Regions from separate parts of the Homo sapiens genome. Here regions 1, 2, 3 and 5 are each linked to region 4. Evidence: promoter capture Hi-C in 16 types of primary human blood cells and fetal thymus (Javierre and others, 2016). All regions are on one chromosome and are shown on one strand. Each heading gives the region's core, a stretch centred on a gene start or on the middle of the fragment in contact. The rest is flanking DNA. Distances are from core to core; before and after follow the strand shown. Region 1 overlaps ZNF274 (zinc finger protein 274). Region 2 holds the start of ZNF835 (zinc finger protein 835). Region 3 has its middle 9.2 kb from the start of ZSCAN18. Region 4 holds the start of ZNF547 (zinc finger protein 547). Region 5 has its middle 3.5 kb from the start of ZNF418.

Region 1 (2,700 bases), core at 199-2,698, 820 kb before region 4:
TGCCTATAGATCCAGCTACCTGGAAGGCTGAGGTCGGAGGACAGCTTGAGTCCAGGACGCGGAGGGTGCAGTGAGCTGAGATCATGCCACTGCACTCCAGCCTCGGTGACAGAGACCCTGTCTCCAAAACAAAAAGAAGCTGACTTGTCTGTATTATAACACCCCCAAAATGTGTATATATATTCACATACATTCACGTAAGCCTATATAAGAAAGTCTGGCTGGAAATACACACCAGGGTTACCAGTGATTATGAGGGGAGGGCAGTAGACAATGCGTGTAACAGACTAAGGGAGCCCCTACTGTCAACACAAGTATCACCTGCCACCAGCAACAGGTTCACTTTCAACCAAGTAGGACACTGCTGACTGTGGAGCCAGAGAAAAACTTCGAGTTTGGTTCTGCAACTGCTCATCACAGCATCCCACCTGGGGTATCCCAATGTCTACTGCTTTTCCAAGATACTGGTCCCTGACTCATCAGTTGGCCCCTTCCCTGTGGGGGCTTCCCATGTCTGGTTCTCACCTGGAATGGTGTCTTGAGGAATTCCTCTCTCCACTGGCCAGAAATCTTCTGCCTCCTCTAACTGAGATACCACATCTGGTTTGGAAAGCTGATGTTCTGCTCAAAGGAAAAGAGACAGGGCTTGTGGGGGTCTGTGTTCAGGAGAAAATGCTATCCTACTGCAGCACAAGCCGTCTCCAGCTTCTCCCCTGCTAAGGCACATGACTTCTGGCCTAGAGCAGTGAACACAACTCCATCCATCCCTGTTGTTGGCTTTCCTAGACTCCTTTGCCAAGCAGCTAAGGGGTCCAGTTCTGGTCAGCCAGACACAAAGGGAGATCGGTCAGCTGGGAAAGCTTTTGCTTTCTGGTTAAACATGACAGCTGTGAAAGGGCTACCCCTTCTCCTTGTTTCTGCCTTGAACACAGATGCAATGCTTGGAGCCACAGCTGTGCAATGACTAGGGGGAACATGGAAAGGTTCACAATAACCAGAGTTTGAAGGGACAGGCTTTTTTTTTTTTTTTTTGAGACGGAGTCTTGCTCAGTTGCCCAAGCTGGAGTGCTGTGATCTGATCTCAGCTCACTGCAATCTCCTCCACCTCCCATGTTCAAGCAGTTCTCCTGGCTCAGCCTCCTGAGTAGCTGGGGTGCTCGGCTAATTTTTGTATTTTTAGTAAAGACAGGGTTTCATCATGTTGGTCAGGTTGGTCTAGAACTCCTGACCTCAACTGATCTGCCTGCCTCAGCCTCCCAAAGTGCCAGGATTACAGGCGTAAGCTACCGTGCCTGGCAGGGACAGGCTCTTTGATGCTACTCCTAAGCTGTTGGGACACTGGCATCGCATTGTCTGGAATTTCTGTGGAGTTTCTTTTTTTTTTTTTTTTTAATAGAGACACGGTCTATGTTGCCCATGCTGGTCTCAAACTCCTGGGCTCAAGCAATCCTCCTGCTTCAGTCTCCTAAAGTGAGCCACCATGCCTGGCCGGAACTCTTGTTGCAAGAACAATAAGCATCCACTACTGCAGCTGAAAACATCCCTGACAGACCCATCTCCCTGGTATTCAGGGAGGGATGGACTAGGCAATGATTCAGAAGTCATACTGAAAAGCTGCCCTTTTCCTACTGGTGCCCCTGCAGTGTGAGCCCAAGCAGACACATACTTCAGAGGTGCTACATTTGTGCTACAAAGCACAGATCCTTCTTGACCTGGAGGCCAGCCTTACCCACTGAGACCAGGTTCCTGTAGTTCTCCAGCATCACTTCCCTGTACAGGGACTTCTGTTTGAGGTCCAGCAGTCCCCACTCTTCCGGGGTAAAACCCAGTGTTACATCTTCAAAGGTCACTGGTTCCTAAAAATCCAGATTCTTGTTCAGCCACAGGCCATCCGCATCCACGACAAAAGAAAGACAGGGGAGGCTGACCAGGCCAGTGAAAGCACAGAATGGTCTACAAGATGACCCAAGGGCATTTTGGGAGTCTCATCCTGAGTTCCTGTCTTTGTCTGAAACCCCAAGCAAACCCAAGCTTGACTCTATTCAGGTTACAATAAGGAGAGCAACACATGAGATCTCTGTAGCATATGAAAATCTGTCCATTTTATTTATTTATTTATTTATTTAATTTATTTATTTATTGTTTTGAGACAGAGTCTCACTCTGTCTCCTAGTGGAGTGCAGTGGCGCAATCTTGGCTCACTGCAGCCTCCACCTCCCAGGTTCAAGCGATTCTCCTGCCTCAGCCTCCTGAGTAGCTGGGATTACAGGCGCATACCACCATGCCCGGCTAATTTTTGTATTTTTAGTAGAGATGGGGTTTCACCATGTTGGTCAAGCTGGTCTCGAACTCCTGACCTTGTGATCTGCCTGCCTCGGCCTCCCAAAGTGCTGGGATTACACATGTGAGCCACCGCACCCGGCCCTATTTTTCTTTTCTTTTTTTTTTGAGACGGAGTCTCTCTCTGTCGCCCAGGCTGGAGTGCAGTGGCGCCATCTCGGCTCACTGCAAGCTCCGCCTCCCCGGTTCACGCCATTCTCCTGCCTCAGCCTCCCGAGTAGCTGGGACTACAGGCGCCCGCCACCACGCCCGGCTAATTTTTTGTATTTTTTTAAGTAGAGACGGGGTTTCACTATGTTAGCCAGGATGGTCTCAATCTCCTGACCTCGTGATCCACCTGCCTCGGCCTCCCAAAGTGCT
Region 2 (2,700 bases), core at 132-2,631, 690 kb after region 4:
ATTTGCTACATTTGTAAAATGTAAGAGGTATATATAATATATGTATATTTCTAACGTAAAAACAATTTTTTTCTTTTCAAGATTTTTTCTTAAAAAGATGAGAGAAACATATTTTTTCAGGAAAAACAAACTTTAAAAAAAAAAGAGGAGAAATAAAACCTTTTCTCCCCTTTCCCCATCCTCTATCTATCCCTGTTTCCCAGGAACAAATCAAAAGGTGGATTATCTTCTGAAGAATGGAAACTGTTAGTCCAGAATGATGTCTTTTTCTCAATGCAGTGAGTTATAGATTCTCTAGTTTTCTCCCTAGGGATGGGAAGGGGGCATTGACGCAAGCCTGGAGAGGAGCCCGGGGAGCAGGGTCATGAAGTTTTTTCTTCAGTGAAGGAGGAATACAATCAAGGGTTTTGTATTCAGAATGTTGTGCAATATTTTGGAATAGGACATTGGTGTGTTTAGAGATTTTAGTTTAAAAACAAAACAAAAAGATTGATCAAATCTGTACAGTTTCTATTGTTCCAGATTTTTTAAAGTTTGTATTAAAAGCATGATACATAATAAAAATAAATAAATAAATAAAACTAAAAAGTAAAATGAAATTCTTCATCTATGTTAATGGATTTGCCACCTTCTTTGCCATAGACTGGAATGACATCAGCTACCTGAGACCAAAATAAAAGTGTGGGTTGCAAACCCTGGCACCTACCTTTTTAGATTCCGCAGCCTGCAGTAGGGACTTAGCCTGTCTGAACCTCAGCTTCCTTCTTTCTTCTTCTTTTTTTTTGAGACGAAGTCTCGCTCTGTCACCCAGGCTGGAGTGCAGTGGTGCGATCTCAGCTCACTGCAACCCTCGCCTCCCAGGTTCAAGCCATTCTCCCGCCTCAGCCTTCCAAGTAGCTGGAAGTGCATGCCACCATGCTCGGCTAATTTTTGTATTTTTAGTAGAGACGGGGGTTTCGCCATATTGGCCAGGCTGGTCTCGAACTCCTGACCTCAGGTGATCCACCCGCCTCGGCCTCCCTAAGCGCTGGGATGACAGGTGCCCGGACTCAAGTTCCTTCTTTCTAAGCCTGTGGGCTCGGCCTCATCCCCTGAGCAAGAAAAAAGTCCCACCCCTGAGTTACTGGAAGCGCCCACCGCCATGCACTGAGGCTGTAGTGGGCGGGGCTCGGGGCAGCAGCCCGGCGCTCCTCGGGCCCCCAGGGGTCAGCGCCCTGCGGACCTAGCGTGTGCAGACGCTTAGCCTTCTGGGAGTTGTAGTTTCGATGACCCAGGCTTTGCAAGCTTTAGTCGCGGTGCCGGCGAGCGCGCAGCGCCCCCTGGGAGTCGTAGTTCCTAAGAACCAGGCGGGCCCGATGCGCAGGCGCAGTCCACCCCGGCCTGGTGCGCGGGCTCCTCCGCAGCAGCAGAAGTCTTGACCTTAGCTCGTCTAAGGAAGGAGGCACCAGGGTCTGCGTTGGCCCAGGAGGACCCGAGACTGAGTAGAAGCGGAGCCGACTGCACCAGGCTAGGAGGGGGCCGGCCAGCGCGTTCGAAGGTGATACCGGGAGGCGAGAGCAACGGTGTGTAGTGTGCGCGTGTTCCTGCAGGTGTGTGACCGCGTGTGAGCCCGTCCCCGAGTGCCATTGTGTCTGCACCTGTTCACTTAGCGGTGTCAGCCCGTATAGGTGTGTGACTGCCTGTGAGCCCGTCCCTGAGTAACACAGCGTCTGCACCTGGTCACTCGACGGTACCAGCAGGTGCAGGTGTGTGACTGCCTGTGAGCCTGTCACTGCATCTGCACCTGCTTACTCGGCGGTGCCAGCCCGTCACTGTGTCTGTACCTGCTCACTTGGCGGTGCCAGGCCGTGCAGGTGTGTGACTGGCTGTGAGCCTGTCCCTGAGTGTCACAGCGTCTGCACCTGCTCACTCGACGGTACCAGCAGGTGCAGGTGTGTGACTGCCTGTGAGCCCGTCCCTGAGTGTCACAGCGTCTGCCCCTGCTCACTTGGCGGTGCCAGCCCATCACTGTGTCTGTACCTGCTCACTCGGCGGTGCCAGGCCTTGCAGGTGTGTGACTGCCTGTGAGCCCGTCCCCGAGTGTCACTGTGTCTGCACCTGCTCACTCAGTGGTGCCAGCCCAGGCAGGTGACTGCAGGTAAAGGCATGTAACACTTTATCGGTGTGTTATGTGCTCGTTCATGTGAAGCGGTGTCTGCATATCACAGCATGTCACATACACGTGTGGCTGCCTTTGGGCAAGTCTGAAAGTTCTCCTGGATGTGAGGTGTGTGACCCCACGTGTGCATGTCTGGGTGTGCCGCCGTGTAGGCTGGCTCGGCCCGTGTGCCTGCCAGCACAATGATGGGTGACCTGGCTGTGCGAGCCTGTAGAGTGCCGTGCTGTCTGAAGTGTGTGCATCTGCACATGATGGAGACGCTGCACATGTGGGCTTTGGCTATGCTGGAGCTCTATCCACCGAGTGTGACTGCACATGTGTCCAGCCATCCCCTGTGGGTGTGTCCCAGTAATGGCCGGCCTGTGTGGAGCAGGTGGCATGTGTGACCTTGTGCGTCTCTGTGCACCTCTTCACACAGGGAGCTACGTGTGGGGCTGGGTGTGTGTGTAGCTACGTGTGCCCGGGACCCTGTGTGCATGTGTGAGTGTGGCTGCAGGTGATGGCTTCCCACCTGCCTCCTTGCATGGGGGTTAGGAGGGCGA
Region 3 (2,700 bases), core at 156-2,655, 740 kb before region 4:
TGCCAGAGAAAGGAACAACACAAAGGAGAAGGACACGAGGAGGTGTTTGATAGGGACACATGTCCTTATGAACACAATGGAAGTATCTCTGGAAATGAATACAATGACAGTGAATGTGGACTGTCCGTTAGACCGAAATCTCATTTCATCAGTCACCAGAGGACTCATACTGGAGAGAGCCCTTATACCTGTAATGACTGTGGAAAATCCCTCTCTAAGAATTACAACCTGATTGTACATCAAAAAATCCACACAGGAGAGAAATCCTATAAATGCAAGAAGTGGGAAAGCCTTCAGTGCTGGCTCCACCTTTACCAAGCATGAGAAAACCCACATAGGAAAGAAGCCCTGTGAAAGGAATTGGTATGGGAAGACCTTCAGCTGCCACTCTTCCCTTGTTTTGCATTTCAGAAGTCATACTGTGGAAAAACTATTCGAATGTAATGAATGTGAAAAATCCTTTTCTGATGTCTCCAACCTTATTGTCCATCTGAGAATTCACATGTGAGGGGAGCCCTATGTATGTACTGGGTGTAGAAAGGCCTTCATTGATCACACATAACTTATTAAACATGGGAGAATTCACATTGGAAAGAGACCCTATATGTGTATGGAGTGTGAAAAATTCTCCAACCACAACAGTCAGCTCTTTTGCATCAAAAAAATCATTCTGGAAAGAAATCTCATGAGTTAAACAATGTGAAAAAATCTTTCACTGAGATTATGTACCTCATCAGGCACAAGAGGATTCATACTGGTGAGAAGGTCTGTGGCTGTAACCAGTGTCAAACTTTTCAGGAACATCGCGGGCCTCATCTGGCACCAGAGGACTCATACTGGTGAGAAGCCCTACGAGTGTAATCGGTGTGGCAAAGCCTTCAGGGACAGCTCCTGTCTGACCAAGCACAAGAAGGTACATGCTCAGGCGACCTTGTGCCAGTGTGTCTAGTGTGGGAAAGTTTTCCCAAGTATCTGTGCTCTCGCTAGAAACCAGAGTTGACACATTGGACTGAGACCTATGGGGATTCAGTGAGCATCTGTGGCAGTGACTGATCTGATTTTCTTTGCCTCCTCTTTGTCAGAGACTTCATGTTGAAGAGTTTATGTTGTTTGAAAGTAACAAATATGTTTTTCCATCTATAAATGGAAGAAAAAATCCTGGATGACAGCACATGTGTTTACCGCATGGTGCACTCAATATTTTATTTTATTTTTGAGACAGAGTTTCACTCTTGTCACCCAGGCTGCAGTGCAGTAGTGTGATCTCAGCTCCCTGCAGCCTCTGCCTCTTGGGTTCAAGCGATTCTCCTTCCTCAAACTCCTGAGCAAGTAGCTGGGATTACAGGTACCCACCATCACACTAATTGTTTTGTATTTTTTTTAGTAGAGATAGGGTTTCACCATGTTGGTCAGGCTGGTCTTGAACTCCTGACCTGAAGTGATCTGCCCACCTTGGCCTCCCAAAAGTGATGAGATTACAGGCATGAGCCACCATGCCCGGCCTGTGCTGAATATTTTAAACCCACTGTTGAGACTTCCTCAGAATAAAGATTCCTTTCAAAATATGGCTGCTTGTTGACAAGAGCTGTGATGAAGATGTACAGGGAGATGAATGTTGTTCTCACACCTGCTAACACAACATGTATTCTGCAGCCCATCATAGATCAGGAGTAATTTTGACTTTCCAGTCTCATTATTCAAGAACAGATGTCTTGGCCAGGCACGGTGGCTCACGCCTGTAATCCCAGCACTTTGGGAGGCCAAGGTGGGCAGATCACGAGGTCAGGATTTCGAGACAAGCCTGACCAACATGCTGAAACCTCATCTCTACTAAAAATACAAAAAAAAATTAGCCAGGCGTGATGGTGCACACCTGTAATCCCAGCTACTCAGGAGACTGAGGCAGGAGAATTGCCTGAAGCTGGGAGGCAGAGGTTGCAGTGAGCAGAGATCGAGCCACTGCACTGCAGCCTGGGAAACAGAAGGAGGCTCCATTTCAAAAAAAAACAAAAAAACAAAAAAAACAGATGTCTTTTTTTCTTTCTTTCTTTTTTTTTTTTTTTTTTTTTTTTTGAGACGGAGTCTCGCTCTGTCGCCCAGGCTGGAGTGCAGTGGCGGGATCTCGGCTCACTGCAAGCTCCGCCTCCCGGGTTCACGCCATTCTCCTGCCTCAGCCTCCCAAGTAGCTGGGACTACAGGCGCCCGCCACTACGCCCGGCTAATTTTTTTTGTATTTTTAGTAGAGACGGGGTTTCACCGTTTTAGCCGGGATGGTCTCGATCTCCTGACCTCGTGATCCGCCCGCCTCGGCCTCCCAAAGTGCTGGGATTACAGGCGTGAGCCACCGCGCCCAGCCAGATGTCTTTTTTTCTTTTGAGACATGGTCTCATTCTGTTGCCCAGGTTGGAGTGCAGTGCTGCAACCATGGCTCGCTGCAGCCTCGACCTCTAGGCTCAAGTTGTCCTCTCACCTTAGCCTCCTACATAGCTGGAACTACCAGCATGCACCACCACGCCTGGCTAATTTTTTTTATGTTTTGTAGAGACGGCATCTCACCATATTGCTCAAGCTGGTCTTGAACTCCTGTGCCGAAGTGATCCTCTTGCCTCATCCTGACAAAGTGCTAGTATTACAGGTGTGAGCCATTGTGCCTGGCCTAGAATGCTCTTAATGGCATCTAGCATAGTGAATCATTTCCAG
Region 4 (2,700 bases), core at 62-2,561:
CAATTACAAAGTAGAAGCTTCCAGACATGGTCTTCAATATATGGCTCCTGCAGCGGGAGGCCGACAACGGAAACGCAATGTCAGTTTCCGCGGAAGAGACCCGCGCTCCGCACCTTTTTTTGACACGGAATCTCGCTCTGTCGCCCAGGCTGGAGTGCAATGGCGCGATCTTGGCTCACTGCAATCTCCACCTCCTGGGTTCAGGCAATTCTCCTGCCTCAGCCTCCCGAATAGCTGGGATTACAGGCGCGCGTCACCACCCCCGGCTAATTTTTGTATTTTTACTAAAGACGGGGTTTCACCATGTTGGTCAGGCTGGTCTTGAACGCCTGACCTTGTGATCCGCTCGCCTTGGCCTCCCAAAGTGCTGGGATTACCGGCGTGAGCCACCACGCCCGGCCACCCTCTATTCTTTTGAAGAATCTACACCAGTTCTCCTCTGTAGACTCCACACCTTTCTGTCCCCCTACCCATGTGACATTTTCAACTTGAGACGCCTGAGAATCACACTGGCCAAACTCCAACCCATGATCTTCTCCATGAAACCTACTTCTCATGCTGCTGACTTCCCCAACTTCATTCTTTCAGATGTTCGGGCAAAAAAAAAAAAATGACCCTTCACTCCCTATTTTTGCTCACAGACATATCTGATACGGCAGGAAAACCTGTTGGCTCTATCTTCCAGGTCTATCCAGAATCCCATCACATTGTCCCTCTTATACCACGGCTCTGGTGCAGCCTCTGGGATCCACTGCAGTGGCCTCTTCTGGGTCTCTCTGTGTCAATTCCCCATCCTGCTCGTTCTAACTCTGGACCTGCCCCTCCCACTGGTCTTCCCTTGACAACCTTCCATGGTTATACCGGCTGCTCAGGCTGCCATTCCAAGAGAAAATTCACAAAACCCTCTCTTTCCCGCAGAAACAACCCACACTCCGGGCTCCCCGACGCGGCCCACTTGGCAGCACCTCCATGCTCTGAACCTGAGATCCCCGAAGGGAGCTCTGAGGCTGCATCAAACCAGCTGATACGGGGACCCCACACAGGAACGCCCCTCTCTTCGAGACAAGGGGCCTGACCTGCAGGGCCCCTTCTATGGGCTTCAGCACTGGAAGGAGGGGTCGGGCGGAGGTGGGGGGGGGCCTGGGACGGGGCACCCACCTCGGGTTCTTCGGCGGGGACTCCGCAAGTCCAGCCAGGGAAGAGAGGGGCGGGGGCGACAAAGGCAAGACAAGGACACCGCCGTCCCCAGTCCTTGTCAGCTGAGCTTCTGCCACTGTCAGTTGTGCCTGTGTCACTACCGCCTCTGCGTACAAGGAACCAAGCCGCTTCTCGCGCTTTTCCGCTCCGTCACTTCGGTGACGTCATAGAGCGCCAAAGGCCGGAACTAGTGAAAACACCAGAGAAAATCAAATCAACCACGGCAAGAGGACGCCGGAAGTCCCGCCCTCCTACGATGCGCGAGCACGAGGACGGACGCACGCACGCACGCACGCACGCAAAGGTTCCTTCCTGCACATTCATTGGGTCAGTCGCGCTGCCGAGAACCGCAGTGTCTTCTGGGTTATGAAGTTTCGACACCGCTTCTGGACTTGCCTTAGAGCGTTGGTCAGTCCTTATATGGCGGATAGAGGCTCAGTGGCACCGTCAGGGGAGCTGGTAAACAGAGTGCCGGACTCCACGGACAGGACGGGGCTTGGGTTGCTCTTAAAGGCGACATAACCAGATTTTCTTGAAGTAAGGTCTAGGATACTCACAGAAATGTGAGGGACCTATGATATCGGATTGTGAAGCACAGCAAGTTCTCAACGGCTACACCGCCAAAGGGACACACTATACCACAAAGGCACTCTGTCTCTACTCATGCCTCTCAGCCATATGTTGCTTTTCAAATACACATACAGTTAAACTTTGACTTCTATTTATTAAGCTTCAATATGGTTGGTCCAAGAGAACAAAGAAAGACTACATGGCTGGGAATTTGCACAAAAGAAGACAGGAGATACCGACGTAGATTGAAAGGGTGACGCTGTGCCTCTGGATCCAGAAGAAAACATCATTACTGTCTGTAGAGTCAGTGATTGTGTTCCTACCAAGAGTGCAATGCTTTTATTCTAATAATACTTATTACTTCATGTCTGAAATATTTTACATTTATTTTAAAAGTCTCAATCCTGTCTGAAAATGAGAGTGACTGATACATGCCATTTCCTGACAGGACATTTTGTGCCATTCCATAGTTGGAGTATATGTACACAGGGAACGTATTATCCCCAATAAAAACTGTGAACTTTCATGATCTTATCTCCTTCCTGAGAAGTGAGTTATCATTTTACAGGGAGTTGAAATTATCTGTGAAAATACTTGTGAAATGAAAATTACAGAAATCTATTAATAATAACTGTTAGGTTTTGAAGGGAAGGCGAGGGTTAAAGAAAGGCAGAGTTGGCAGCTCTACAGCAATGCAGGTTTTATGTCCAGCACGAGACCTGTGATGGGGAGAACTAGCTTAGTGCCAGAACCCCTCACTGCTTACAGGCTGGGGCAATTATAGGCCTGGATGAGAGGGGTCAGGGGTGGGGGGCAGGGGGCGCGGCGGGAGGGTATGACTTGCTGCCCAGGAGGATGGTGGGTTTTTTTTTGTTTTTGGAGGAGTCTCGCTCTTGTCGCCCAGCCTTGAGTGCAATGGCGTGATCTCGGCCC
Region 5 (2,700 bases), core at 16-2,515, 580 kb before region 4:
TGGAGTGCAGTGGCATGATCTTGGCTCACCGCAGCCTCTGCCTCCTGGGTTCAAGCGATTCTCCTGCCTCAGCCTCCTGAGTAGCTGGGATTACAGGCATGCACCACCACCCCGGCTAATTTTGTATTTTTAGTAGAGACAGGGTTTCTCCATGTTGGTCAGGCTAGTCTTGAACTCCCGACCTCAGGTGATCCACCCGCCTCAGCCTCCCAAAGTGCTGGGATTACAGGCGTGAGCCACCGCACCCAGCTTTTTTTTTTTTTTTTTAAAGCTTCCACATATGAGTGGGAATGTGCATGTTTATGTTCCTGGCTTATTTCACTTAAATAATGTCCTCCATTTCCATCCATGTTGCCTCAGGTGATAGGATTTCATTCTGTTCTTTGAATAGTATTCCTTTGTGTGTATAAACCACATTTTCTTTATCCATTTATCTGTTGTTGGACATCTAGGTTGATTCCATATTTTGGCTATTGTGAATAGTGCTGCAGTAAACGGGGTGTAGATGTGTCTCCAATGTGATGATTTTCTTTCCTTTGGATAAATTCCCAGTAGGGGGATTGCTGGATGATATGGTAGTTGTGTTTGTAGTTTTTTGTTTTGTTTTGTTTTGTTTTTTGAGACAGAGTCTCACTCTGTTATCCAGGCTGGAGTGCAGTGGTGTGATCTTGGCTCACTGCAACCTCCGCCTCCCAGGTTCAAGCAATTCTCCTGCCTCAGCCTCCTGAGTAGCTGGGATTACAGGTGCGTGCCACCACCCCTGCTAATTTTTGTATTTTTAGAAGAGACGGGGTTTCACCATGTTGGTTAGGGTGTTCTCGAACTCCTGACCTCGTGATCCGCCTGCCTCAGCCTCCCAAAGTGCTGGGATTACAGGCGTGAGCCATCGCGCCTGGCATATTTGTAGTTTTTAGAGGGACCTCAATACTGTTCTCCATAATGGCTGTACTGGTTTGCATTTGCACCACCAGTGCATGAGTTCCCTTTTCTTGTATTTTGTTGGGTTTTTTTTTTTTTTTGAGATGGAGTCTTTCTCTGTCGCCCAGGCTGGAGTGCAGTGGCATGATCTTGGCTCACTGCAACCTCCGTCTCCCGGGTTCAAGCTATTCTCCTGCCTCAGTCTCCTGAGTAGCTGGGATTATAGGCACGCACCACCACGCCTGGCTAATTTTTGCATTTTTAGTAGAGACAGGGTTTCACCACGTTGGTCAGGCAGTCTCGAACTCCTGACCTCGTGATCCACCCAGCTCGGCCTCCCAAAGTGCTGGGATTACAGATGTGAGCCACCGCACCTGGCCATTAGTTCCCTTTTCTCTGCATCCTTGCCAGCGTCTGTTTTTGTCTTTTTGATAATAATTATCCTAAACGGGGAGAGTGATACCTCATTGCGGTTTTGATTTGCATTTCCCAGATAGTGATGAGTGTGTTTTAATATATTTTTGACCGTTTGTATGTTGTCTTTTGAAAAATGCCTATTCAGATCGTTTGACATTTTTAAATTGGATTGTTTGAGGGTTTCTTTGCTGTTGAAATACTTCAGTTGCTTGTGTATTGTATTCTGGCTCTATTTTTTTTTGAGACGGAGTTGCTCTGTTGTCCACGCTGGAGTGCAGTGGCACGATTTCAGCTCACTGCAACCTCTGCCTCCCGGGTTCAAGCAATTCTCCTGCCTCAGCCTCCCGAGTAGCTGGGATTACAGATGTGCGCCACCACACCCACCTAATTTTTGTATTTTTAGTAGAGACGGGTTTTTGCCATGTTGGCTAGGCTGGTCTCAAACTCCTGACCTCAAGTGATCTGCCCACCTTAGGCTCCCAAAGTGCTGGGATTGCAGGCATGGCCACTGCATCTGGCCTCTTTCTTGATTCTTGATTACACTGTCACTGAGTGGGTTCTACATCAGAAAAAGATGAATAGGCCAGGTGTAGTGGCCGAATCCTATAATGCCAGCACTTAGGGAGGCCGAGGCAGGAGGATTGCTTGAACTCAGGAGTTTGATACCAGCCTGGGCAACATGGCAAAACCACATCTCTCAAAAATTAGCTGGTTGTGGTGGTGCATGCCTATAGTCCCAATTACTCCTGAATGCTGAGATGGGAGGATCACTTGAGCCTGAGAGGTTGAGACTGCAGTTGAGCCTTGATCATGCCACTGCGCTTCAGCCTTGGCAACAGAGTGAGACGCTGTCTCAAAAAGGGGAGAAAAAAATAGAATGTGGAGATAAGCAGATTTCAAATGTGAAGTGAAAAAGAAGCTTTTCATTGTTCAAACCATATTGCTAAGTGAGAAAAAGTACAGATGTGTATAGAATCTATGACTTTTTTCCTATAAGATGAAAAACTTGTAACATAATTGACACACAGAATAATGAAGAAAGGGAGACACAATTCTATGAGGATAATACTATACTGCAGATTTCACCTTCTGTTTTTACTTATTCATTAAATTATTTATTTGGAGACAGAGTCTTGCTCTGCTGCCCAGGCTGGCCTCAAACTCCTTTGCAGAAGTGATCCTCCCTCTAAGCCTCCCAAGTAGGTAGGTGAACAGGCACAATTTTTCTCCACCTTGGTATTGTTCAATGTTTTTAATAAAGAAAAAAAAATCTCAATGACAAAACCAACAAGGGGGACATTTTTAATCACATGCTGACCTTAATTCCATCTCTTCGTAGACATCACTGTTAAAACTTCTGGGCCG

The links. Contacts are between HindIII fragments. The CHiCAGO score rates a contact against its expected background, and 5 or more counts as called.
Region 1: a fragment that was not itself captured here is called in contact with the fragment with the promoter of ZNF547 in region 4 in 5 of 17 cell types (total CD4 T cells, naive CD4 T cells, total CD8 T cells and 2 more); the score reaches 9.5 in total CD4 T cells.
Region 2: a contact is called between the fragment with the promoter of ZNF835 here and the fragment with the promoter of ZNF547 in region 4, in 10 of 17 cell types (naive CD4 T cells, non-activated CD4 T cells, total B cells and 7 more). The highest score is 14.4, in naive CD4 T cells.
Region 3: a contact is called between a fragment that was not itself captured here and the fragment with the promoter of ZNF547 in region 4, in 2 of 17 cell types (total CD4 T cells and non-activated CD4 T cells). The highest score is 5.5, in total CD4 T cells.
Region 5: a contact is called between a fragment that was not itself captured here and the fragment with the promoter of ZNF547 in region 4, in 6 of 17 cell types (total B cells, total CD4 T cells, naive CD8 T cells and 3 more). The highest score is 6.7, in total B cells.

What each region holds. Positions count from the first base shown.
Region 1 is chr19:58,184,868-58,187,567 of GRCh38, reverse strand. ZNF274 (zinc finger protein 274) reads right to left here. Exons shown (of 8, transcript NM_133502.3): 3 at 1,730-1,856; 4 at 526-621. Among named protein-coding and RNA genes, the nearest start is that of ZNF274, 3.2 kb to the right of the region's middle. The HindIII fragment of the contact is 1,171 bases long and covers 863-2,033 here.
Region 2 is chr19:56,670,438-56,673,137 of GRCh38, reverse strand. ZNF835 (zinc finger protein 835) reads left to right here and starts at 1,381. Exons shown (of 2, transcript NM_001005850.3): 1 at 1,381-1,562. LOC105372473 (a long non-coding RNA gene) reads right to left here and starts at 1,159. Exons shown (of 4, transcript XR_936110.4): 1 at 707-1,159. The HindIII fragment of the contact is 4,177 bases long and covers 1,287-2,700 here.
Region 3 is chr19:58,106,077-58,108,776 of GRCh38, reverse strand. It overlaps a transcript of ZSCAN18 not described here. Among named protein-coding and RNA genes, the nearest start is that of ZSCAN18, 9.2 kb to the right of the region's middle. The HindIII fragment of the contact is 4,764 bases long and covers 1-2,700 here.
Region 4 is chr19:57,362,162-57,364,861 of GRCh38, reverse strand. It overlaps ZNF547 (zinc finger protein 547), which reads right to left and starts at 1,311. Exons shown (of 4, transcript NM_173631.4): 1 at 1,159-1,311. TRAPPC2B (trafficking protein particle complex subunit 2B) reads right to left here and starts at 1,311. Exons shown (of 2, transcript NM_001355204.2): 1 at 1,159-1,311; 2 at 1-47. The coding sequence starts at 28. RefSeq lists enhancers at 1,259-1,638, 1,679-1,758. The HindIII fragment of the contact is 1,910 bases long and covers 20-1,929 here.
Region 5 is chr19:57,937,553-57,940,252 of GRCh38, reverse strand. No RefSeq gene overlaps it. Among named protein-coding and RNA genes, the nearest start is that of ZNF418, 3.5 kb to the right of the region's middle. The HindIII fragment of the contact is 1,983 bases long and covers 274-2,256 here.